Linked DNA regions of Homo sapiens: region 2 is linked to region 1. The links are contacts of gene promoters, found by promoter capture Hi-C in human tissues and cell types (Jung and others, 2019). All regions are on one chromosome and are shown on one strand. The core of a region is centred on a gene start or on the middle of the fragment in contact, and the rest is flanking DNA. Distances in the headings are between cores, read along the strand shown.

Region 1 (6,293 bases), core at 2,839-5,338:
CCACCTATAAAATCACTATTAACTACTACTTTAAACTATTCAAAGATTTTTATTTTTATTGTTAGTAATGGTGTAAAAAGGTATCTCTTCCACTGCTAATAGCAGTATAAATCAGTAAAATTCAGCTGGAGACCACTTTTAACCTTATGTTATAAAGACTTACGATGTTATACATTGTTTAGCCCAGCACTTGTGCATTTAGAACTTTATCCCGAAGAAATAATTACTAGAGTGTGCAAACATTTAGCTGTAACAGCAGAGGTTTATGATAGTGAAAACCTAGGGACAATTGAAAAGTCTAAAAAGAGGATATTAAATAAATTATGATAATACTGACATTAAAATAATATCATAGAAGAATATTTAATGACATGCTTCATAATATTAAGTGAAATGAGCAAGTTACAGAGCAGTATAATCTACTTTTTCTGCATATAAAAAATTACTGTAAGGACATAAACCCATATGTTATTATTGCTAGTTATCTCTAGATGTCAAAATTATGGAAGAAAGTTTTCTTTCTTGTTTTGTAGTTTTTCTAATCTATATTGTTTAAATTATCTGTACTATTCATGTGATTGCAAAGGAAACAGTAAAATGTATATATTTTAAAAATAACTCTATTTCTAGTGTTTTCTTATTATCTTATGAAAACCACTGTCCAATTTCTTTTGTTCTGCTTGCATGGCCCTTTGGAACTGGTGTGGCTTTAAACCAAGGCTGTCTCTTTGAATTCTAAGGTCTACTATACAGTCTGTGAGATGTCTACAGAGCTTGAATGTTCAACAACATATGAAGATGAGTATTGTTTATATTTCCAGTTAGAAATATCATTCTGAGTTTGTAAAAAGATGCAGATATTTTAGCTTAAAATTGAATGGATGCATCAGAGTTAATTAGCAATGCTTCAAATTACAGACCACTGCCTCTTCTTGTGCAACTAACCATCAATTAGCTATGCTAATGAGAAAAGCAGGAAATGATTGCAGGAGAAAATGAAATCAGTAGGGAAAAAAGAAAAACAACTGATTTTAGTCTCTAGTTTCAGCCATCAATTGTCAAAACTTACCAGGATTACATATAAGTATAAATTCTAACCTCTCTTTGAAAGAGGCAGTGTATTAATAAGAAAGTAATGTTAATTCTTTAGAAGTTTTTTCTTTTCTCGATTATCCTTCAGAGATGCCATACCTAAATAATAAAATGACCAGAATATGAGCAGCAGGAAACTTATAGACAAAAGGTTCGTCAGTGGTTCTAGTGTAATCCCTAGGGGAACACTTAAAAAAATATCAGCATAGAGGTCTTTCTCCAAACCATTTAAATCAGAATCTCTGTGGAAGGTGCTAATTAATCCATAAGATGCAAAATGTATTTCAACTTGATTCCAGCTGCTGAATATTTGCTTTACTCTGAGTTCTCTTTTTGGACAGGAAGGGACTCTGATAAACCACCTCTGGTTCTTTCATCCCCACCTCCATCACTCCATTTTTAGGCAGGAGAACTTTCCCAATGAGACAGTCTTACAGGTGTCTCCTGTAGGATCTTTAAATACCTTCCTACTGGCTCTCTTCTCTGTTAAGGGCTTGGATGATTTTCTCAAAGAGAAACTTTTATGAGGGAATGCAGGATTCCTAAGCAGTATCTCCCTACCCAGTGCCATGATAAATATTTGGATGCAAAGAAAACAGGAAATAAGTCATTGAATGGAGATTGCAGCTCCCCAGAGAGCTCCAGATGACAGGCTCCTGGAAAGTGTTCCAAGTTCTGTTTGTTCTCCAGTCCTGAGAACAGTAATCTTTGCGGCTGTACTTTTCCTCTTCTTTCCCTAGATTTCACTTTTACAACTTTAAAAAAGTATAATAGCTTGCATTATATGCTTACTGCACAAAGTTTTAAGACAAAAGAATTACAAATAGCAAAATTGAAATCATCTGTGAGCCTCCCTCTTCCCCACTCCAGAGAAACATATCATTAATGTCATTAATGTATATCTTCCATGTTTTCTATGTGTAGAAACATGTATTTTATTTTACAGAATTGAGTCATCATATATGTACACTTTTGTAACTTGCTTTTTAATCTTAACCTTATGTTTTGAGTTTTCTGGATCATCAAGCTTCAAAATCAAGATTTCTGTGTATGCAGCAAAGCCCATCATAGATATTTACTATCATTTATTTAACCATCCCTCCACATTAGATCTTGATTATTACTTCTGAAATCTGCCTTGTTTTATCTTTTTCCACTATTTATCAGAAAACAAGATCAGCCCTGGTGGGTTCATACCAATTACTTTTCCTAACTGGTGCTTGACATTGTATCCACTAATTTCCTAAAGTCACAGATGATAATTACAGATACTGAACCCTTACACCCTCCTATGCTACATATGCTTTTCTCCAATTTTTGTAACCAGCACTTGCTTAATCGGTGATAATACTGCTTTTCTTCCTTTAGGCTAAGCCACACTCCTCAAAAATCCTGAAGTTTACTTCACCGTCTTCCAAATATGTATGTATGTATGGAAGATTCATCATTTTAGTAGCTAACTTACACTGAATGTTACTGTATATACTGTGACAATAGGTTTATATGATTTTTTAATTTGACCTTTATGATAATAACACGGGGTAAATACTACTATTATTCCCATTTTACAAAGAAAGTGAGGCTTCTTTTGAGTAACTTGCCCAATATCACACACAACTAGTAAGAGGCAAAGCTGGGCCCTGAACCCAGAACTGTTTTCTTCTGAACCATTTTTTTCATTATTATTAACTAAAGTCCGTGTTTATTAAAATTTTCTTAATTTTTACCTAATGGCCTTTTTCTGTTCCGGCATCACACCCAGGATAAAACATTACATTTCTTTGTCATTTTTCATTAGGTTCCTCTTGGCTATGACAATCTCTTAGACTTTACTTGTTTTCTCTAACAGAGTCATCCCTCATCAGCTACAACACCATAGCAGATATAATTCATTGTGCATTACTATGTATGGTTCTGATCCTCACAGCAACCCTCCAAAACAGATGTTTTAATCCTCATTTTATAGATAAGAAAATTGAGGCTTAGGGAGATGAGAACTAATGGTGCAGTTCACAAAGCTGGTAAATAATGGAACTCAGATCCTGACCCAGGACTATCTGACCTTGAGTGTCATGTTCTTTTCACTACTCTGGTTTAGATGACTTATACATGCATGCTTTTTATAAATAAATCTGAATGCTAAAACCAGAGTCAGGGTGCCATAAAGAAAAGTTACATCTGGTTCAACTTTCTTATCTAATATCCAAGCACTTTCTATAGATTATCCAACGAAAATTTCTAAATATATAGTCAAAAGGTATCAGTGTAGTTTGTACACGTTTCCACAAAGCCTTGCCCAATTTTGAACAGTCCTGATTGTTAGAAAGCTCTGTGTTCCTCCAACTGATTTTTATCCTTTGGTCTTAATGTGGCTCTTAGGAGCCAAACACAATCATCTAAGCCTTCTACCTAAGTACCCTGCAGGCAGACACATCTCCCCCAGACTCTCTTTTCCTGGCAGAGTACGGCTTAGTTTATATTTTCCTCAGCATCCTAATGATGCTACTTTAAATCACAGTGACTTGCAGTATCCCTGTTTAGTTGCAAGTCCTTATAGTGCATTTTGGTACAGCAATGTGTATGTCCTATACAATCAGGACTCAATAATTGCTGTTGACTTCTTCCTTAAAGGGAACCACTTACCACCATCACCATCCCTTCTCGCCTCCCCTCTCCACACACTACATTTCTAAATCCTCAAGTCCAAAGGACCCTAACACTGACACTTCTTGCAACCCTTTAAATGAGGCAGCTCTCCCTAGAAAACCCCTTGAGACACAAGTTTGGAAAGTGAGTCAAACGTAAGAGGGATGTCTTCTCCGAGTCTGAGAAGCAAGTTAAAGGGCAAAAGCAGTGAGCCGTGGACGCCTGGAGACAGTTTCTTTCTTCCTGAATTCCCCAAAGCGCAGAGACAGACAGGATCTGCCAGGACAGCGCGCAGGGCGGGGCGGGGACAGGCGCGCCAGGAGCGGGGCGGGCTTCCAGCCGCTGGTTTTGCTGAGGGCTGAGGGACGGCTCAGCGACGCCACGGCCAGCAGCGCTCGCGTCCTCCCCAGCAACAGTTACTCAAAGCTAATCAGATAGCGAAAGAAGCAGGAGAGCAAGTCAAGAAATACGGTGAAGGAGTCCTTCCCAAAGTTGTCTAGGTCCTTCCGCGCCGGTGCCTGGTCTTCGTCGTCAACACCATGGACAGCTCCCGGGAACCGACTCTGGGGCGCTTGGACGCCGCTGGCTTCTGGCAGGTCTGGCAGCGCTTTGATGCGGATGGTGAGTAGAACAAGCCACTTGCACACTCAGGTGTAGACGTGGCTCCAAGCTCAGCCCGCTGAAAGGACCTGGAGTTTCCCCTTTACTGTAGGAAAAGTTATCGACCTGGGTTGTTAATGCAGTGTACCTAATACAGTATCATTAACAGACGTTTGGCATACTGGTGATACACATCTATATACCTTGTTAAAATTCTGGGTGGTGAATTTCCACTTTCCCCTTTCCAATCTCTCTTTGTGTGCGAGCGCGCCATATATATGGTAGACATACATATATATTGTATATACAATGACTAATATCATTGTATATGTTCAAGGCTTGTGGGCTGAGACTCAGCTATTTGAAGTCATCCTTCCCTAAATGGGCTCACTTTTACGCAGTGACTTTGCTGTACACCCCTCACTCTCTCAAAATGAGAATAAATTTTATCAGCTTTCAAAACGACTCCTCCACCAAAAAACTACTTGAAAATAAAATGGAACTACTTAATATTTGTTTTTATTAATAAAGAAATAAAATATCTAAAAGGTGTGTTTTAACTCTGCAAACTGGGATTCAATACTTACACCTGTTAAGTTTCTCCAAGCTTCAGAAATTTTGGGGTTAAATTTTATTGGAAAGTTCACGTTTATTCATTGATTAAAATTCATGTACTTAATAGCCTTCCTTTTCCAAGCACTAATATAAACCCTAGCATAAAGCACGTATTCTGGAACAGTGTTTACTGTTCAAACCCATGTATTCTAGAGGTAGGTGTTGGCACTTTGTTATTGGAATAACAAAAAATAGTGTTGAGGGAAGCTTTATGAATTGTGAGATTAAAAACATATTTAGATAAATACTGTCATGTGTTTTTTATATGTTAGTATTATTTATGTTTATTTTCTCACATTTAGAAAAAGGTTACATAGAAGAGAAGGAACTCGATGCTTTCTTTCTCCACATGTTGATGAAACTGGGTACTGATGTAAGTACTTGCACACTAAGCCTTAATTTATGCCTCTTAGTAAGATACGCACATCCAAGTCTTATATTGATTGGTACCTATTAATTCCAACTCACCTCCTTTCTTCCTTGCATGTATGTAATTTCTCCCCCTCTCCTAGCAACATAGAGGGATTTAGGCAGTTTTTATAAAAGGTGCAACTGTAGCATTAGACATGCTGGTTACTGACTTTCAGTGTAACATCTGTCATCCACTCAGAGATCCTAACTGTAGACTCAGTTAACTTGGTCTTGAACGTCTCCTTGGTTATGTCTCTGCTAATTGATTTATACCTGGGGGTAAAGTAGCCCACTTTGTTCAAAAAGCTGGAAAAGATGTTAAGCACATTAAGATTTTGGGTGTTTAATATGTATGATACTCCTCTGATAGCAAACCACAAACCATTTAAAATCATTTATCCATTATTCATTTTATTAGAAGAGGTTACAGATTTTTCAGGGAATGACAAACCAGAAAACAACCAGCATACTCAGAGCCCAGATACAAATGGAAGCCAATCTATCTAGTGTCCATCTGATGGTAAATATGTCCTTGGGAGATGTAAATGAACTCTTGAAAGTCTCTCTATCAAAGCAGAGAAAAATTTTACACAGAAACACATGAGCGGAGGACAGCCTGGGGATGGGCTCGATCTGATGAAAGCTCCAGTAGGGCATTCATAGTAGAAGGAGACGCTCTAGGGACAATTGAATTTAAATGAATGATGGAGATAGTTTGTCCTTATCATTCAGCTGTTTATCTGAAGAATAGAAGTGCATCACATTCTCATGTGAGAGCTCAGTGAGGGAACAAGGAGCTCTTCACCACTGTTGAGAACATGGGGAGGGTATGTGGGGGGCAGGGGAAGCTGGTTCAGAAACAAAAGGGCTGGCTTCCGCCTTCTTCAGCCACACAGATCTCTTGGTCCCCCTCTACTTCTGTCTGCCTC
Region 2 (6,715 bases), core at 2,414-4,913, 450 kb before region 1:
GAATCACTTGAACCCCGGAGGCAGAGGTTGCAGTGAGCCGAGATTGCGCCACTGCACTCCAGTCTGGGCAACAGAGTGACACCCAGTCTCAAAAAAAAAATAAAAAAAAAAAAAAAAAAAGAAAGAAAGAAAGAAAAAAGTAAAAGAGCCAAACTTAGGAAGTGGAAATATTCTGTTGTTGGCCATTCAAAGGAGGGAGGTGAAAAGAGGAAAAATCACCTGCCAAGTATGTTTAGATTTTAGAGGATACACTATGATAGGATCTACAAGAGGAGTTGGAGACATTACAAAATAAACATCTGTATATATTCCTCATTATCCAACAGAAAAGCATAGAAGAAAAACAAATCTTATGTGTAATCACTTGAAATAAGACATTTGGAATGTTGCTCAGTGGTTCCTATTACCTCATGGGAAAGTTTTCCATGAGTTGTTTGGCTTTTCACCAGCTAAAAATAGTAAAATTCAAATAACAAAAAACATTTTGCAAGGAAAGGGTGAACTACATTGGAAGGATCTTTCTTTTAAAGATGGGATGGAGAAATGGGCTGGTGGTTCAGAACACTGTATATGTCGAGCAGCTACTAAGCATGATACTAATGATTTTTTTTCTTCATCTTTTTTCTCATGTCCTTTTCCCCCTTCTTTATTTCTGTCTTCCTTCTGCTTTTCCTACTTTGTCTTCCTTCCCTCCCTGTCTTCCATTCTTAATGAAACAACTCAGCACTCTGTCAACTATCAGAAATCAGCTCAAGCACAGCCATCTACTTTGAGAAGTCTTTTCAGCACCTGGTATGTAACTCCATTGTACTCTCAGCATACATCATCTTTAACATTTTGTTTCATTCCATAATAAAGTAATATGGCCAGGCACCATGGCTCACACCTGTAATCCCAACACTTTGGGAGGCCAAGGCGGGAGGATCTCTTGAGCCCAGGAGTTTGAAAGCAACCTGGGCAACAAAGTGAGACCCCCATCTCTACAAAAAAGTCAAAAAATTAGCTAGATGTGGTGGCATGTGCCTGTGGTCCCAGCTGCTGGGGAGCCTAAGGTGGGAGGATTACTTGAGCCCAGGAGTTCAAGGCTGCAGTGAACCATAATCGCACCATTGCACTCCAGCCTGAGTGACACAGTGAGACCCTGTCTCAATGAATAAATATATGCGACCTATATGTCCAACAATAGGAAAATAGTTAAATACATTAAAAATACATATTTTGGAGAATATTTAATGTTATGAGGAAGTGTTATGTGAAAAAGCAGAATTTAAACTGTATATATTTGTGCATGTATTTAAAAAGTGAGAGGAATACACATCAAATTGTTCATTGTGATTATTTCTTTAAGAGGATGGATGGGATAGAAAGAAGTAACTTTTATATTTAATTGATTCACTTTTAAATTGGTTGAAGGTCCCCCCTGCTGTAAGTATATATTGCTTTTGGATTCTAAAACAAAACTGCTAGAAAAATAGGTGAAAAAAGTCTTAATATATTAACAAGTCAAGCCTAGCAATATGTTAAAAAGAATACATTGAGAGCAGTTGCAGATTTTCCTAGAGAAGCAAGTTTAGTTTATTGTTTGAAAAAAATGAAATTCACTATATTAACAGAATAAAGGAGATAATAAAAATCATTTTAGTAGGTACAGAAAAGGCCGTTTGGCAAAATTCATTATTATTTTATCGTGAATTTTTATAAAAGTCTCAGTAAGTTTAGAATTGGAAGGAACTTTCTCAATCTGATAAAGAACATTTACAAAATACTTATATTTAACATCATATGAAGTGGTGGAATAAATGTTTTCCCCTAAGATAAAAAGAAAAAGCAAAGATGTCTATTCTCAACACTTCTAATCAACATTGTAGAAAATTCCAAGTAATCAGCAAAACAACTATTAGAATAAATGAGTTTCGCAAAGCTGCAAGATGCAAGGTTAGTATAAAAAGCAATTATGTTTTTATATACTAGAAGCAAATGATTTGAAATAAATTTTATTTTCAATATCAAACAATTAGATGTTTAAAAATAAATTTAACAAAGGATGTGCAAGACCTCTACATTGAAAACTGTAAACATCGCTGAAGGACAATGAAGAAAACTGAAGTAAATGGAGAAATGCATCTGTTCATAGATGGAAGGCTTAATGTTGTTAAGATGTCAATTCTCCTCAAATTTACCTGTAGATTCAATGGCAACCCAAATCATAATCCTGAAAGGCGCTTTCAAAGAAATTGACAAGCTGATTCTAAAATTTACACATAAATGAAAAGGACCCAAAATAGCCAAATACATCTTGTAAAAGAAGAACAAACTTGAAGGGCTGGTACTATCTATCTCTATGATTTACTATAAAGTATGGTAATCAAGACAGTGTGGTACCAGCATAAAAAACAGACAAGTAGATAAATAGAACAGAGCTTAGAAGTAGATTCATATTTATATGGTCCACTAATTTTCAACAACAAAAGTATCAAAGCAATCTTATGCAAAAAGAAGTCTTTTCATCAAATGGTACTGAAACAACTGAAAATCCAAATGGGAAAACAAATGAACCTTGACCTTTACCCCACACCTGCACAAAAGTCAACTCAAAATGGATCACAGGTCTAAACAAAGAATAAAACTATGAAACTTCTGGAAGAATGTATTTATGGCTTGGGAGTAGGCAAAAGTTTCTTGGAAAGGACAAAGAAGGCCATAACCATCAAAAAATTGATAAATTAGACTTTATCCAAATTAAAAGCTGCTCCTAATCAAAATACACCACTAAAAAAAAATAGATAAACTCCAGACCAAGAGAAAATATTCTCAAAACTAAAGTGTGACATAGGACTAATAATTGGAATAGATAAGGAACTCCCACAACTCCGTTTCTTTAAAAGGTTCAAACCACTCAATTAAATAAGGGGCAATATATTTGAACAGATATTTTACAAATGAAAATCTACTAATGGCAAATAAACACATGAAAAAGTATTCAATATCATTAGCCGTCAGAGATTAATTATCAGAGCCCAAAAAACCCACAAATTTAAACTACAATAAGGTACTATTACACACCCATCAGAATGGTTAAAATTGAAGACTTTAACACCAAATGCTGGCAAAAATATAGATCAATAGCAACTCTGATGCATTATGGATAAAAGTGTAAAATACATAGCCACTTTCCAAAAATGTCTGGCAGTTTCTTATAAAATTAAACATATACTGAAACCATAACCCGGCAATTTCACTCCTAGGCATTTATTCAAGAGAAATCAAAGCAGATGTGAACAGGCAGAAGGAAAAAAAAATCAGTGGAAGATAGTACATTCAAAATTTTCAAATCTAAAATAAAAGTGAACAGAGATGAAGGGACTTATGAAGCAGATTAATATATGCATTATGAGAATCCAAGGAGAAGAAAGAGATAGTGAGATTATATGCAGAAATAATGACTAAAAAAAATCCCAAATACAATGAAAGACATTAATATACAAATCCAAGAAACTCAGCTTCCAAAGTGGTCCACTCCAAAACATATTATAATCAAACTGTTAAAGACAGAATTGAGAGAAGAGAGAAGCAACTCATCACATACAAGCAATCTTCAAAAATACTATCAATCAATTCTTCAGCATATACTTTGGAGGACAAAATGCAGTGGGATAAAGTGCTGAAAGAAAATGTCAGCTGAGAATTCTGCATCTGGCAAAACAGTCTTTCAAAATGATGGAAAAGTTAAGACATTCACAGATAACCAGAAACCCAGGAAATTCATTACCACTAGACCTGCCTTATAAAAAATGTTAATGGTAGTCCTTCAGGTAGAAATGCAAGGACACTTACAGTAACTCATACCCATAGGAAGATATGAAGATCTTCAGCAAAAATAAATACATGGACTAATATAAAAGAAAGATCAGCCGGGTGATTACAGCCACTTGTAATCCCAGCTACTCAGGGCACTGAGACAAGAAGATCAGCTTGAGATCAGCTGGGCAACATAGCAAGACAGTGTGGTACCAGCATAAAAAAAGACTCATGCACGCGTGCACACACACACACACACACACACACATATACATGAGAGAGGTTTATATATATAATATAATATATATATATTTTATATATATATAAAATATATATATTTTATATATATATATAATATATATATTTTATATATAATATATATAATATATATTTTATATATATAATATATATAATATATATTTTATATATATATAATATATATATTTTATATTATATATAATATATATTTTTTATATTATATATATATAATATATTTTATATATATATATAATATATGAAAGGTAATAAAAGAAAAGCAACAAAATTACAAAAGCAGCAATAAAAATTTTGCAAACTGGGTCTCTCACTGCAGCCAGAGCTCCAGGTCTCCTCTTCACTGCTCTGTGTCCTCTGCTCCTAGAGGTGCAGCTTCTGTGGCCCTGTGACCTGCAGGTATTGGGAGATCCACAGCTAAGATGTCAGGACCCCCCTGAAAGCCTAGAAATGTGTACATTTTTGATTCCATGTTTTAATTAATCATTTTTTGACAACACATTGGATGGCATATTTAAAAAGATGTGTTTAGGGAGGGGCCAAGATAGCCAAATAGAAATAACTCCAGTCTGCAGCTCCCAGTGAGACCAATGCAGAAGGTAGGTGCATTTCCAACTGAGGGACCCAGTTCATTTCACTGGGACTGGTTAGGTATTGGGTGCAACCCACAGACAGCAAGCAGAAGCAAGCTGAAGTGTCACTTCACCCGGAAAGTGCCAGAAGCCAGGGGACCTCCCTCCCGAAGCCAAGGGAAGCCGTGAGGGACCGTGCTACCAAGACTGGGTAGTGCACTTTTCCCATGGTTTTTGCAACCCACAGATCAGGAGGCTCCCTCGTGTGCCTACACCACCAGGGCACTGGGTTTCAAGCCCAAAATTGGGTGGCTGTTTGGGCAGACACCATGCTAACTGCAGGAGTTTTTTTCATACCCCAGTGGTGCCAGGAACCCAAGCAAGATAGAATCATTCACTCCCCTGGAAAGGCAGCTGAAGCCAGGGAGCCAAGTGGTCTGGCTCAGCAGGTCCCACTCTAAAGGAGCCCAGCAAGCTAAGAACCACTGGCTTGAAATTCTTACAGCCAGCACAGCAGTCTGAAGTTGACCTGCGACAATCAAGCTTGGTAGGGGGAGGGGCATCTGCTATTATGAGGCTTTAGTTTTCCCCTGACACTGCTAAGGAGGCTGGGAGGTATGGACTGGGCAGAATTCACCACAGCACAGCACAGTGGATGTGGCCAGACTGCTTCCCTAGATTCCTCCTCACTGGGCAGGGCATCTCTGAAGGAAAAGCAGCAGCCCCAGTCAGGGGATTACAGATAAAACTCTTATCTCCCTGGGACAGAGCACCTGTGGGAGGGGCAGCTGTGGGGCAGCTTCAACGAATTTAATTTTTCCTGCCTGCTGACTCTGAAGAGAGCAGCTGATCCTGACAAGGGGGATTCTCCCAGCACAGTGCACCAGCTCTGCAAAGGGACAGCCTGCCTCCTCAGGTGGGTCCCTGACCCCCGTGCCTCCTGACTGAGAGAGACCTCCCAGCAGGGGTCGACAGACACCTCATGCAGGAGAGCTCTGGCTGGCATCAGGCCAGTGCCCCTCTGGGACAAAGCTTCCAGAGGAAGGAGCAGGCAGCAATCTTTGCTGTTCTGCAGCCTCCACTGGTGATACCCAGGAAAACAGGGTCTGGAGTGGACCTCCAGCAAACGGCAGCAGACTTACAGAGGAGGGGCCTGTTAGAAGAAAAACTAATGCACAGAAAGCAACAACATCAACATCAACATCAACAAAAAAGAACCCCACACAGAAACCCAATCCAAAGGTCATCATCCCCAAAGATCGAAGGTAAATAAATCCACAAAGATGAGGAAAAACCAGCACAAAAATGCTGAAAATTCTAAAAACCAGAATGCCTCTTCTCCAAATGATCACAACTCCTTTCCAGCAAGGACACAAAACTGGATAGAGAATGAGATTGATGAATTGACAGAAGTAGGCTTCAGAAGGTGGGTAATAAACTCCTCTGAGCTAAAGGAGTATGTTCTAACCCAATGCAAGGAAGCTAAGAACCTTGATAAAAGATTACAGGAACTGCTAACTAGAATAACCAGTCTAAAGAAGAACATAAATTGACCTGATGGAGCTGAAAAACACAGCATGAGAACTGTGTGAAGCATTCACAAGTATCAATAGCCAAATCCAACAAGCGGAAGAAAGGGTATCAGAGACTGAAGATCTCCTTACTAAAATAAGGCGTAAAGACAAGATTAGAAAAAAAAATAAGGAATGAAAAGGAACAAACAAAGCCTCCAAGAAATATGGTACTATGTGGAAAAGACCAAACCTATGATTGACTGGTGTACCTGAAAGTGACGGGGAGAATGGAACCAAGTTGGAAAACACACTTCAGGATATTATCCAGGAGAACTTCCCCAACCTAGCAAGACAGGCCAACATTCAAATTCAGGAAATACAGAGAACACCACTAAGATACTCCTCAAGAAGAGCAACCCCAAGACACATAATTGCAGATACTCCAAGGTTGAAACAAAAGAAAAAATGTTAAGGGCAGCCAGAGAGAAAGGTCAAGTTACCTACAAAGGGAAGCTCATTAGACTAACAGTTGATCTCTCTGTAGAAACCCTACAAACC

The links. The method cuts DNA at HindIII sites, captures the fragments that hold promoters and counts their contacts. A contact is called where the count stands out against the background at its distance.
Region 2: a fragment that was not itself captured here is called in contact with the fragment with the promoter of SCGN in region 1 in 1 of the 25 tissues and cell types used here (spleen).

The regions. Positions count from the first base shown.
Region 1 is chr6:25,648,127-25,654,419 of GRCh38, forward strand. It overlaps SCGN (secretagogin, EF-hand calcium binding protein), which reads left to right and starts at 4,089. Exons shown (of 11, transcript NM_006998.4): 1 at 4,089-4,359; 2 at 5,256-5,326. The coding sequence starts at 4,278. The HindIII fragment of the contact is 8,573 bases long and covers 1-6,293 here.
Region 2 is chr6:25,202,352-25,209,066 of GRCh38, forward strand. No RefSeq gene overlaps it. Among named protein-coding and RNA genes, the nearest start is that of CARMIL1, 74 kb to the right of the region's middle. RefSeq lists an enhancer at 5,210-5,504. The HindIII fragment of the contact is 3,534 bases long and covers 1,897-5,430 here.